2 separate regions of the Homo sapiens genome follow, and region 1 is linked to region 2. The links are contacts of gene promoters, found by promoter capture Hi-C in human tissues and cell types (Jung and others, 2019). All regions are on one chromosome and are shown on one strand. Each heading gives the region's core, a stretch centred on a gene start or on the middle of the fragment in contact. The rest is flanking DNA. Distances are from core to core; before and after follow the strand shown. Region 1 holds the start of TRMU (tRNA mitochondrial 2-thiouridylase). Region 2 holds the start of UPK3A (uroplakin 3A).

Region 1 (5,145 bases), core at 1,978-4,477, 1.1 Mb before region 2:
TAAATTGCCCAAGGTCATATAATAAGCTACAGTCAGGACTCAACCCAAGGCTCTTCTGCCCCTAAAGCCCACTCAGGCAGGGGCAGCCTGTCCCGCGCACATGGCCTGCTGTGTCAGACGCCTTCGACAACTGCCCGACATTCATCACAGTCAGGGCTCACCAGAGGATGAGCCCTACACTCCTTCCACTGCAGGAACAAAAGTCCAGCCAAACTTTACAACGGTCCTGAAATACACAATCAGCATTTCTTCTCCCCTTCACGCTGCTCTCGTTACCCCATTTGGAGTCCCTTCTCTACAACTTTGTTTGCAACCCCTCCTCTCCGGTGAAGCCTTCTTGATTACTCCACACTGCAAGTTTCTCCCTCCTCTGGGTTCAGTGACTGATAGCATCACTGGTACTTCCTGCGTGCCACGCATCACTGTCACCTCTTGTGAAGATAATGTCCTCCCAACTAGACCGCAAACTCCTACAGAGCCAGGTCACAGTGAAGACATCTTAATGTTCCTAGATGTGGCACACGCCTAGCACACAGCACTTAATTATTGAGATTATATTGGATTTTAGAAAAGTTTTTGTTTGTTTCTTGTTTTCAGAGGCACAGGCCATGTATCACCTCTTTCTCAGAAATCCCCTAATCGCTGACCCACATAGCACACAGGCATTGGTGCTCACCTTCCAGGGGAGCCCTCAGCCTTAGCTCCCCTATCCTAACTGGGCAACAGAAACAGCTCAAGGTCCAAGAAAGCATTAAAGAGACTTCAGGCAAGTGGCAAAATGACAGGAGTGAGAGAGCTGGGTGTGCTGTGGGGTCCAGGCCTCGCCTCTAACACAGAGCCCCGAGGGTGGCTGAGGCCTCTTGCAGTCTTCAGCACCACCGTGGAGGGAGAGCGCTGGGCTGCAGCACAGGCGTCGGTCTGGCTGGTTACCGGATCCTTCCACTGCAAGGATCCACAGTGTGAGGAAGCTTCCTTTGTGCTGTGACCCGCACTCACCTGAACACATCATTCCAATACTCCTTTACGTAGGACACTTGATGGAAAGGGATGTCTAAGATCTGGCAAACTCTGTAAGCATCTTCACAGTCTTTGTCGGCAGTACAGACCCCATGTTCATCCAGTGAGTCCCAGTTCTTCATAAACACCCCTGTCACCTGGTAACCTGCGGGCGGGAAGGTCAATTAAAGAGAATACATAAATCAACCTTCGGTAAAACGGCAGTGATTTCTGAGCTCTGAGAAGTTCCCCACACGCTGTGCTCCTGTGCCTCTGTGCCTGGCCTGCCGGGCAGTCCCTGCTTTGCCATGTGGCTTCAGGGATCCGGTTTCCATCTTGGTGCCTGAGTCCCCAAGATTAACGAGGTGGTATTTTCTCATCTTTGTGTCCCCATCTATGTATCAGCACAATACCTAGCAGGAGGGGATCAGCCAGTGTGTGTGGAATACACGAAGGAATAGTCGAAACTCAACAAAATTTTTCAAAGCACCATTCAGTTATCAAAAAAGGAAACTCTTTTCAAAAGTTATTTCTAGTTACTATCTAAGACTTAGATTCTAAGTGATCAGATATAAAGATAATTAAAATTTTCGATATTTTGTAAGAGCTGTACCACCTAGTTTATGACCTATTTTCTACCTTTTCGATTGTAACAAAATATTCACCCAAATATTGGAAAGGCCAACTTTAGCCCTACACCACCTTAGCAAACTACACAGGTGCAGACCCTGTATGAGAAAGCTGGTTCGTTTAGGTAGGCTGAATGTAATGAAAGACAGGGCAAATGACTGCTGAAGAAGGCTTCATATAGTACCCAAAACAACAGAAATTTGATGACAAAGCTTTGTCAAAACTACACCACCACACGCGAAAGACCACCCCTATCCCAGATCAACCAGACTAATGTCTACCTAACAGTCTAAAGCCCCTGGTATAGCATCTTCCATAATCAGGGCTAAACGTGCTCCAGGCTCCTCTCCTTCCATCTCCATCTGGCCAGAACCAGCCCACACTTGCAGGCCTCTGTGATTCTGCTTGCACTGCTGACTGTGCCGGGAGGGCCGCCTCCACCTCCAAGTCTCTGCTTAGTGACATCCTACTCTTCTTTCGACTCAGCTGAGCACCTCCATCTCTAGGATGCTTTCCTCCACTCTCCCTTCCTCACAACTATTTCTGCTTATGGTCCGCCTACCCTTCTCTTTGGCACTTACTGTACCTACCATAATAGCTATGGTTATTAACAATATAAACTAATAGCCACTACTGTTTTCTGCGTACCTCGTATGTGCTGAGCACGTACTCATCAGTATGTACTATGTCATCTAATCCCTCCAGTCACCCCGTGAGGCAGGTGTTAGCCGAATTTTACAGGGGACGGCTTAATTCACTTGCCCAAGGTCAGGAGCCAAAGATGGCGCAAAGCAGAGCTCCACAAACGTGACTCTGTGAATGAGGCCTCCCGCGGGGAGCCACACAGGTGAAGTTAAACAAGTGCTCATTTCAGCGCCGGGCCCGAGGAATGCTAAGCACCCGTGGGGCTCCGTTTAGATGCCGGAAGAAATGCAAATGCTCCTGGAGAAAACTTTGTCCTCCAGCGAGCGGAGAACACAGGAGACGCTGAACAAGCAGACCCGCCGCGCGGCAGTTGTCCAGTCTGCTGAGTGGGGAGGACAAGGACCTCCCACCGGGCGGCCACAGCGTGTGCAGAGGTCAGGCCCCCGGCCCGGCGATCCCAGCTCCCCTCACCAGTGTCCACGGTCTCACAGGTGAATGTGGACGCCGCAGATCCGTGAGAAACCCTTCCCTCCCCACCCCACCCCGGCCCGCCGGCTTCTCACTGTGGGTGGGCGCGCGTGGGTGGAGAGGGGCGCGGAACTGCTCCCAGGTAGTCGGAGCTGCAGTCGCGCACACCTCCGACTACACAGGTGGAGGGCGAGGAGCCTCCGAACCAAAGTCAGAGGACGGGGTATCCTCCTGCCGACCCGCGCGCAACCAGCGGCCCAGGGAGGGAGGAGACGTGCACAACGCCACGACGGACGGGGACAGGTTTCCGGGGACACATTCGCTCGGCGGGGGGCGGGAGCCTCGGACGCCTCACCTCTCCGCCTCAGCAGCAGCGCGGCCACGGCGCTGTCCACGCCGCCGGACAGGGCGCACACGACGTGCCGCAAGGCCTGCATCCGCCAGTCGCCCAACTTCGCCAGCTGCAGCTACCGCCGCTTCCGCGCCTTGCCGGAAGTCCCGCCCCGGCCGTAGGGTCCGCGCTAGTGGCCCGGCCGGAAGCTGCGGCAGCTTACCCGCGTTCCGTCCGGCCTTCCCCTGTCCCGCGGCGGGTTCCCCTGTCTCCGGCCTGCGCTCACCCCTGAGGCTCCACCGACCCGCGGGGCGCCGAGACTCTGTCGGGCCGCGAGGGGCTGGCTTTTTTTTTGAGCCGCCGCCTTGCCCTCCCCACCCGCGCCCCGGCCTCACTGCTCTTCTTCTGCGCTGTAAACCAAAAATAAAATTCTAAGCCCCCCAGCCAGCCATTGGAGGCCTCCTCTCGGCCAAGGGCGTCCTAGAGGGAACCTGAACCGCGAGTTCGGGCTCTGATGGGAAAGGCCGGGTGGGACCCGCCTCACTAGACCCTCCTCCTCCCTTTGGAATTCGGACCAGCATTAACGTCAAAACAGACTTAAGACTGTCTAGGCGGACTCTCCGTAGCAATAGGATACCGACATGACAGATGGCAGGCCCTGAAAGATATCGAAGTATTTTACAGTATTTTAATTTAATTTAATTTTTAATTAATTAAATTTTTTTGAGATGGAGTTTTGCTCTGTCGCAGGCTGGAGTGTAGTGGGCGCGACCTCGGCTCACTGCAACCTTCACCTCCAAGATTCAAGCGATTCTCCTGCCTCAGCCTCCCTAGTAGCTGCGATTACAGGCGCCCGCCACCAAGCCCAGCTAATTTTTGTATTTTTAGTAGAGACGGGGTTTCACCGTATTTGCCAGGCTGGTCTCTCACTCCTGACCTCAAGGGATCCGCCCACCTCAGCCTCCCAAAGTGGCGGGATTACAGGTGTGAGTCACTGCCCCCGGCCCAGAAAATCTTTGAATCCACCTATGACCTGGAAGCCCCACCCCACCTTCGAGTTGTCCCACCTTTCCGGAACCAATGTTACATCTTACATGTATTGATTTATGGCTTATGTCTCCCTAAAACGTACGAAACCAAAAGCTGTAGCACCACCAGTTTGAGCACGTGTTCTCAGGATCTCCTGGGACTATGACATGAATAAATATCTTCAAATCTTTTACAGTTTGACTCCAAGCATACTCAGCACTCAATCCTTAATGTCTGTGAGGTGTGTTGGACAGGGGTTTTGTGTTCTGTCCACTCCTACTCCATGCCCAGAAAAGCCCCTGGCCCAGGGCAGGTGCTTCATAACCTCGCTGAATAAAGGAAGGAGGAGAGAATGGAGGTCATCCCCCAGGGGTGATATTCAAGCTGAGTTCTTCTCTACGAGTTAGCATCTAGACAAGGTCTACCTAAAGCACAGGGAGACTCTGAACGAAAAAGATGTTCATTTGTGAATAGGGCATTGCAATGGGAATATGCATGCCACAATAAGCTATGTGGGTATTCAGGGAAGTAAAGGAAGACAAAGGTTTTTATTTTATTTATTTATTTTTTTGAGACAGTCTCACTTGGTCACTAGGCTGGAGTGCAGTGGCGTGATCTTAGCTCACTGCAACCTCCGCCTCCCGGGTTTAAGCGATTCTCCTGCCTCAGCCTCCGGAGTAGCTGGGATTACAGGCACATGCCACCACACCCAGCTAATTTTTGTATTTTTAGTAGAGACGGCATTTCACCATGTTGGCCAGGATGGTCTTGATCTCCTGACCTTGTGATCCGCCCGCCTCGGCCTCCCAAAGTGCTGGGATTACACGCGTGAGCCACAGTGCCCGGCCTAGGAAGACAAAGGTTTTTAAAGGGAAAATGAGGATCACATCATTGTTTTGAGATAATTCTTTGGCTACAAAGATCAATAACAAGGGTGACAGCACTCCAGGGTTGGACAAGCAGTTGCTGGGCAGATGTCCTTGCAACAGAAGTTTTTTGTTTTTTTTTTTTTTTTGAGGAAGGTTACGATAGCCTTTGTGTAAAGT
Region 2 (5,732 bases), core at 2,599-5,098:
CTAGGCGCTCCCTCTTAGAGCTCCCCTCCATTTCTTTCCTCCATGTAACACACGTGGCATAGTTGCTGAGCACTAATGCATCTGTCTTCCTTGCATTTCTGCCTTCCGTGACTCCAAGCCTGCTCCTTGGCATCACAAAGAAAACTGAAAAAGAAAAAGGCTGAAGCTGGGCATGGTGGCTCACGCCTGTAATCCCAACAGTTTGGGAGGCTGAGGCGGGCAGATCACCTGAGGTCAGGGGCTCGAGACCAGCCTGGCCAACATGGCAAAACCCTGTCTCTACTAAAAATACAAAAATGGGCCGGGCGCAGTGCCTGACGCCTGTAATCCCAGCACTTTGGGAGGCTGAGGCGGGCGGATCATGAGGTCAGGAGATCGAGACCATTCTGGCTGACACAGTGAAACCCCGTCTCTACTAAAAATACAAAAACAAAAGTAGCCAGGCGTGGTGGGGGCGCCTGTAGTCCCAGCTACTCAGGAGGCTGAGGCAGGAGAATCGCTTGAACCCGGGAGGCAGAGGTTGTGGTGAGCCGAGATTGCACCACTGCACTCCACCTTGGGCAACAAGAGCGAAACTCCATCTCAAAAAAAAAAAAGCAGAAGTTGAGGCTGCAGATGGCAAGGCTTTGGTAGGGTTTCTGTTCATGCTGGGCCCCAGCTTTCCACTGGGTGACCTTCCCTCTCTGGCACAGTTTCCTTTCCTGTAAGACGAAGGGGTTTGGGTGGGTGACTTCCACACACGTAGATGGGCCAGGACCAGCTGCATAATCTGTGGGCCCCAGAGCAAAATGAAAATGTGGGCCCTTGTTCAACAATTAAGAATTTCAAGATGGGCCAGGCATGGCAGCTCACGCCCGTAACCCAATACTATGGAGGAGGCCAAAGCAGGCTGATCACTGGAGGTCAGGAGTTCGAGACCAGCTTGACCAACATGATGAAACCCCATCTGTACTAAAAACACAAAAAATTAGCCGGGCATGGTGGTGTGCACCTGTAATCTCAGCTACTCGGGAGGCTGAGGCAAGAGAATCGCTTGAACCTGGGAGGCGGAGGTTGCAGTGAGCTGAGATTGTGTCACTGTACTCCAGCCTGGGAAATGGTGGAGACCCCGTCTCAAAAAATAAATAAATAAATAAAATACAGAATTTCAAGACGGTAGTTGCAGAGCGTCAATCCAAGAGGGGCCTCTTCTGAACTTGAGGCTCAGCGTGGCCTGCCTGGAACCTGGGATGTTCTCAGCATATAAGTTCTCAAGAAGTGTGGCTGCTCCTACTTTGCCCCTGCTCTCCCTCATCAGGACTGGGGAACTGCCGCGGCTCTCCTGTAGTGGTTTGTTTACACCCACCTGTACTCCGTGGCTGCCGACAGGGGTGCGTTACAGAGGCCCTGGAAGTTGGGATCCCACAGGCAGGTCCCGTTGGCACCCACCCTGACCAGGTAGGCATTCAGGATCTGTGAGGCCTTGGACACATCCCCAATGGCATCCAGGCTGGGCAGGTCACTGCAGGGGATCAGGTCAAAGGCCACAGCTTTGTAGGGACCTGTCCTCCCACCCTCTGTTTGTAGGAACGTTGAGCCCAGTGGGGTGTTGGTGCTGTCTTGCACTGAGGCATTCCTGGAAATGGCTGCAGAGGCGGTGCAGGGAGTCAGGCTTCTGGCCACTCCGGCTCAGCGACACTCACTCAGTTATTCATCAAATGCCTGATCATCCTTTCTGCCCCAGCTCTGTGCTGGGCACTGGCATCACAGGCATGGGGCAAACTTAGTCTCTGCCCTCTCAGTGCAATGTGGGAGATGGACAAGGATCACCTCCCTGCTTTGGGCGCTGTGTCTGACTCTCGCCTTATCTTGTGACATTCCTGCAACCCCCCATCCCAACAGACCTTTGTCTCTTCATTGCTGAAAGCCCTGGATTCTCTCTTGTGTAAAATGGGAAAGGAAGGTCATCGGTCCAAGGGAAATAACGTGGAGGCAGGACCCAGCTCTCCTCCTTACTAGATGGGTGACCTTGGACAACTCACTCTACCTCTTCAGACCCTAGTCTTCTATGAAATGGGAGAGAAATTCCCTACAGTGCCCGGAGATCAGGCACTTTAGTTTATAGTCAATAAACACATGCTGAAAGAAGAAAAGGATGGTCCCGAATGAGCTGTTGTAAATGACTGGCTGCTAGAAATGCAAGAGTTGATGTTGGCTTGTCTCAGAAGCTCAGGATCCCCTCCAGGGCAGGGGTTGGGGCTGGGCCACAGCAGCAGGTCCAAATGCATGGTTTTGTCTCAGAAACACCAATCTTGAGCCACCTTTCGAAGCCTCAGGAAGGACCTTGGGCTTGGGGACTAGAGAGATCAGGATTCACTCTCCAGCCCTGGGAGGTCCAGGGGGGGTTATTCCACCTCTCTGAGCCTTGCTTCCCTGCTCTGTAATGGGGATTGGTAATAGCTACCTTACAAGCTGGTTGTAGATACTAGCTCTATGGTGTGCAAAGTGCCTGGTATGGTGTAGGTGTTCAGTGACTGGTGGTGTTATTACTTCCCTCACTAACTGGATGTCCCTGCAAGGCAAGGACAGGTCTGTGGCTGCAGTACCTGTTTAATGAGACGACTACAGGCATGGAGGGTTCCTCTATCTGCCTCCTTCCCTCCTCCCTGCAGACAGGTCAGAGCCCCTTTTGGAGTAGCCAGAGGGAAGCAGGACCCTTACCTGAGTCGACCAGGACATACAGGTAGACCTCGTGGGTGCCAGTGAGGGCCTCTTTGCTGTCAAACATGCAGAGAGGCTTTTCCAAGGCCACAGTGGTAAGTGTGGGGTTGTTGGTGGCGAAAGTCACACTGGCCAGTTGGGGCTGCAGGTTCACAGCTGGAGGAGGCAGTGAGGATGGGAACTGACCTCCGGCAGAACTGTCCACACCCACTCTGCTTGCAGTTACTGAGCACGTGTTGTGTGCCAGGCCCTGGGCTTCACCCTCCCCCTGGGCCACCGCATAAGCTGTCTCAGACACTGCCCCCTGCCCAGTCATCCTGCTCAGAAATGGAGCGGTCGGGCCAAACTGCTGCCTTCTCTCCCTGCTGCAGACACTCAGTTGCCAAGAACTCCACTGCCCCTCCTAAGCATCTCTCCATGCCATCGGCCCAGCCCTCCTCCGTCCCACCTTCCTCACCTGGGCCCTCCCCCCACATGCAAGTCTGACTGCCTCATTCTCTGGCTATGGCCCTCCCATGGTCCCCCAGCGCCCCCTGACGAAGTCCAGCCTCTCTGGAAAGGCAGTGAGGTCCTGAAGTTCTGGGCTTTGCTTTGTTCGGTCTCCAGCCTCACCCCTTCCCCCACAGGCTCCCCTCACCCCAGGCTCCAGCTGGTCCCATGGACTGGCAGTTCCCAGGACAGCCCAATATTGTCTCCCCTCCATGAACTTGCCCATGCTGCTTCCTCGGCCGAAATATCTCTCTATCTGCCCCCGTCCAGGCGTCACCATGGGGCTGGGGCTAGTCCCTTCTCTGTCCTACCGCAGCCCCCCTGCATGTTGGTCTCTTGCAACACACATCGCAGGGCTGCAGCCATCTGTGAGCCCTCGGATTCCCAACAGAGGAGGCCCGTAAACGTTGGCTATCACTATTATTCATAACAGTAATATCTGGGTCCCCAGCGCCAGGAATCAGGGTCCAGGCGGCGGGCGCCCCAGGGCAGAGCTGCCCGCTCTTTCTGGGCTCAGCCCCCTCCTGCCCTTCACCGCCTACCCGAGCCGAACCGCAGGCAGCCGAGGGCCAGCAGGGCCCAGAGCGGAGGCATCGCCCGGGAGGAGCCGCCAGAGCGCGGGGCGGGCGGTCCAGCGAGCAGGCGCGGGCACCAGACCTGTCCCTGCCAGGGCACCTGCCAGCTCTGGGCCCTCGGCGCGCCCCGCCCCCGCCTGGGCTGGCCAATCCGCGGCCTCCTCGCGCGCTATTTGCATACGGCCCTGCCCCGGGCTTCCCCGACCCGTGCGCGGTGCCCCAGGGCGCAATCCCACCGGGCAGGACCTTCTCCAGCCCGCATCAAAGCGCCTACTGTGTGCCCAGGCCAGGGCAGCCCTTCCACAGCGTCTCTCACCAATGGGACCTTGAGGGCAAGCCACTCCCACTTGGAGCCTCAGTTTCCATACTGTAAAATGACGCTAATTTCTACAACTATTTATGGAGGCTCTATTACGTGCCAAACACTCACTGGGCACTCGCGAAACAAAATGGGTTGACCAGTAAAGGTGATATCCTGGAAAACGAAGTCCAGGCCTGGGAGCTATCCAGAGACCCTAGTATGACGCCTAGTATGACCCCTTCGGTTCACAGGTACAAGCCAAGGCCCGGGAGGCTGGGGGGTGGGGCAGGGGGTAAGTATTGGAGCGTGGTGGGGGGCGCGGGGACAGGGACTCACCCCCGGCCGCGCTTGGTCTCCTGGAGACACTGAGGCTGGTGGAACCCAGGAGTCCAGTGCTCAGCCCAGGGCTGCCTCCAAAGGGATGGAGCAGGGTGTTAATGCCTACTTCTTAAAGGGGCGTTTGAAAATTATGATGGACTCCTCACCATGACTGTGCGGTTCCCTCCATCACAAGAATCTGTGCACATCTCTGGATGCACCTTAAATCAATTTTACATTTAAGAAATAAAAGTAAGTCAACAAGGATAGGAAAAAAACAACAGAAGAGGGGCAAGGAGGCTCATGCCTGTAATCCCAACACTTTGGGAGGTCAAGATAGGAGGATCCCTTGAGGCCAGGAGCTAGAGACCATCCTGGGCATCATAGTGAGACCCCATCTCTACCAAAAAAAAAAAAAAAAAAATTAGCTCAGCCTAGTGGGGCATGCCTGTAGTCCCAGGATTGCTTGAGCCCAGGAGGTCGAGGCTACAGTGAACTATGATCATGCCACTTTGAGCTATGATTAAAGCTGCAATAACAGAGCCAGACCCTGTCTCTTAGAAAAAAGATAAAGAAAATCAACAGAAACTAATTAATCTCTGTATGACGTTGATGACATAACCTCACTTGCAGAAAAAGAATAAAACGATCTGAGTAATTATAGAGCTGGGTTGTCCAGGGGTACCTCCTTAGTGGAGTACACTCTAAGAACTGGGAGGCCTGTGACAGAACCCCAAACCTCACTAGTGACTTTGTTATTGGCAGTGGGGAGGGCGGAGCCATTCCGAAGCAACTTTGGGTTATCCTAGGATTGGTGGTACCAGAACCCAGATTCTCACTGTAGGATGAGGGAGATTTGGAATGGAGGAAGGAAGCACATGAGGTCAGTGTGTCCCATTATTGGGGATGTTCCATTTCATCATTTGGTAAAGTTGGTATCTCTGGATTAATGTATGTCTTGTTCCCTAAAAATCTTTTTTTTCTTTTTTTTTTTGGGGGGGACGGAGTCTTGCTCTGTCACCCAGGCTGGAGTGCAGTGGCGTGATCTCGGCTCACTGCAAGCTCCACTTCCCACGTTCACGCCATTCTTCTGCCTCAGCCTCCCGAGTAGCTGGGACTACAGGCACCTGCCACCATGCCTGGCTGATATTTTGTATTGTTTTAGTAGAGACGGGGTTTCGCTGTGTTAGCCAGGATGGTCTCAATCTCCTGACCTTGTGATCCACGCACCTCAGCCTCCCAAAGTGCTGGGATTACAGGCGTGAGCCACCGCGCCCGGCCCTTGATCCCTAAAAATCTTTCCCCAGCTGGATGCGGTGGCTCACGCTTGTAATCCCAGCACTTTGAGA

What was found. Contacts are between HindIII fragments. The study calls those that stand out against the background at their distance.
Region 1: a contact is called between the fragment with the promoter of TRMU here and the fragment with the promoter of UPK3A in region 2, in 1 of the 25 tissues and cell types used here (aorta).

Annotation. Positions count from the first base shown.
Region 1 is chr22:46,333,796-46,338,940 of GRCh38, reverse strand. It overlaps TRMU (tRNA mitochondrial 2-thiouridylase), which reads right to left and starts at 3,227. Exons shown (of 11, transcript NM_018006.5): 1 at 3,095-3,227; 2 at 997-1,162. The coding sequence starts at 3,176. RefSeq lists a silencer at 2,780-2,829 and enhancers at 2,638-3,137, 2,970-3,189. The HindIII fragment of the contact is 7,028 bases long and covers 1,404-5,145 here.
Region 2 is chr22:45,283,065-45,288,796 of GRCh38, reverse strand. UPK3A (uroplakin 3A) reads right to left here and starts at 3,848. Exons shown (of 6, transcript NM_006953.4): 1 at 3,732-3,848; 2 at 2,701-2,856; 3 at 1,346-1,625. The coding sequence starts at 3,783. RefSeq lists a silencer at 3,718-4,027. The HindIII fragment of the contact is 20,192 bases long and covers 1-5,732 here.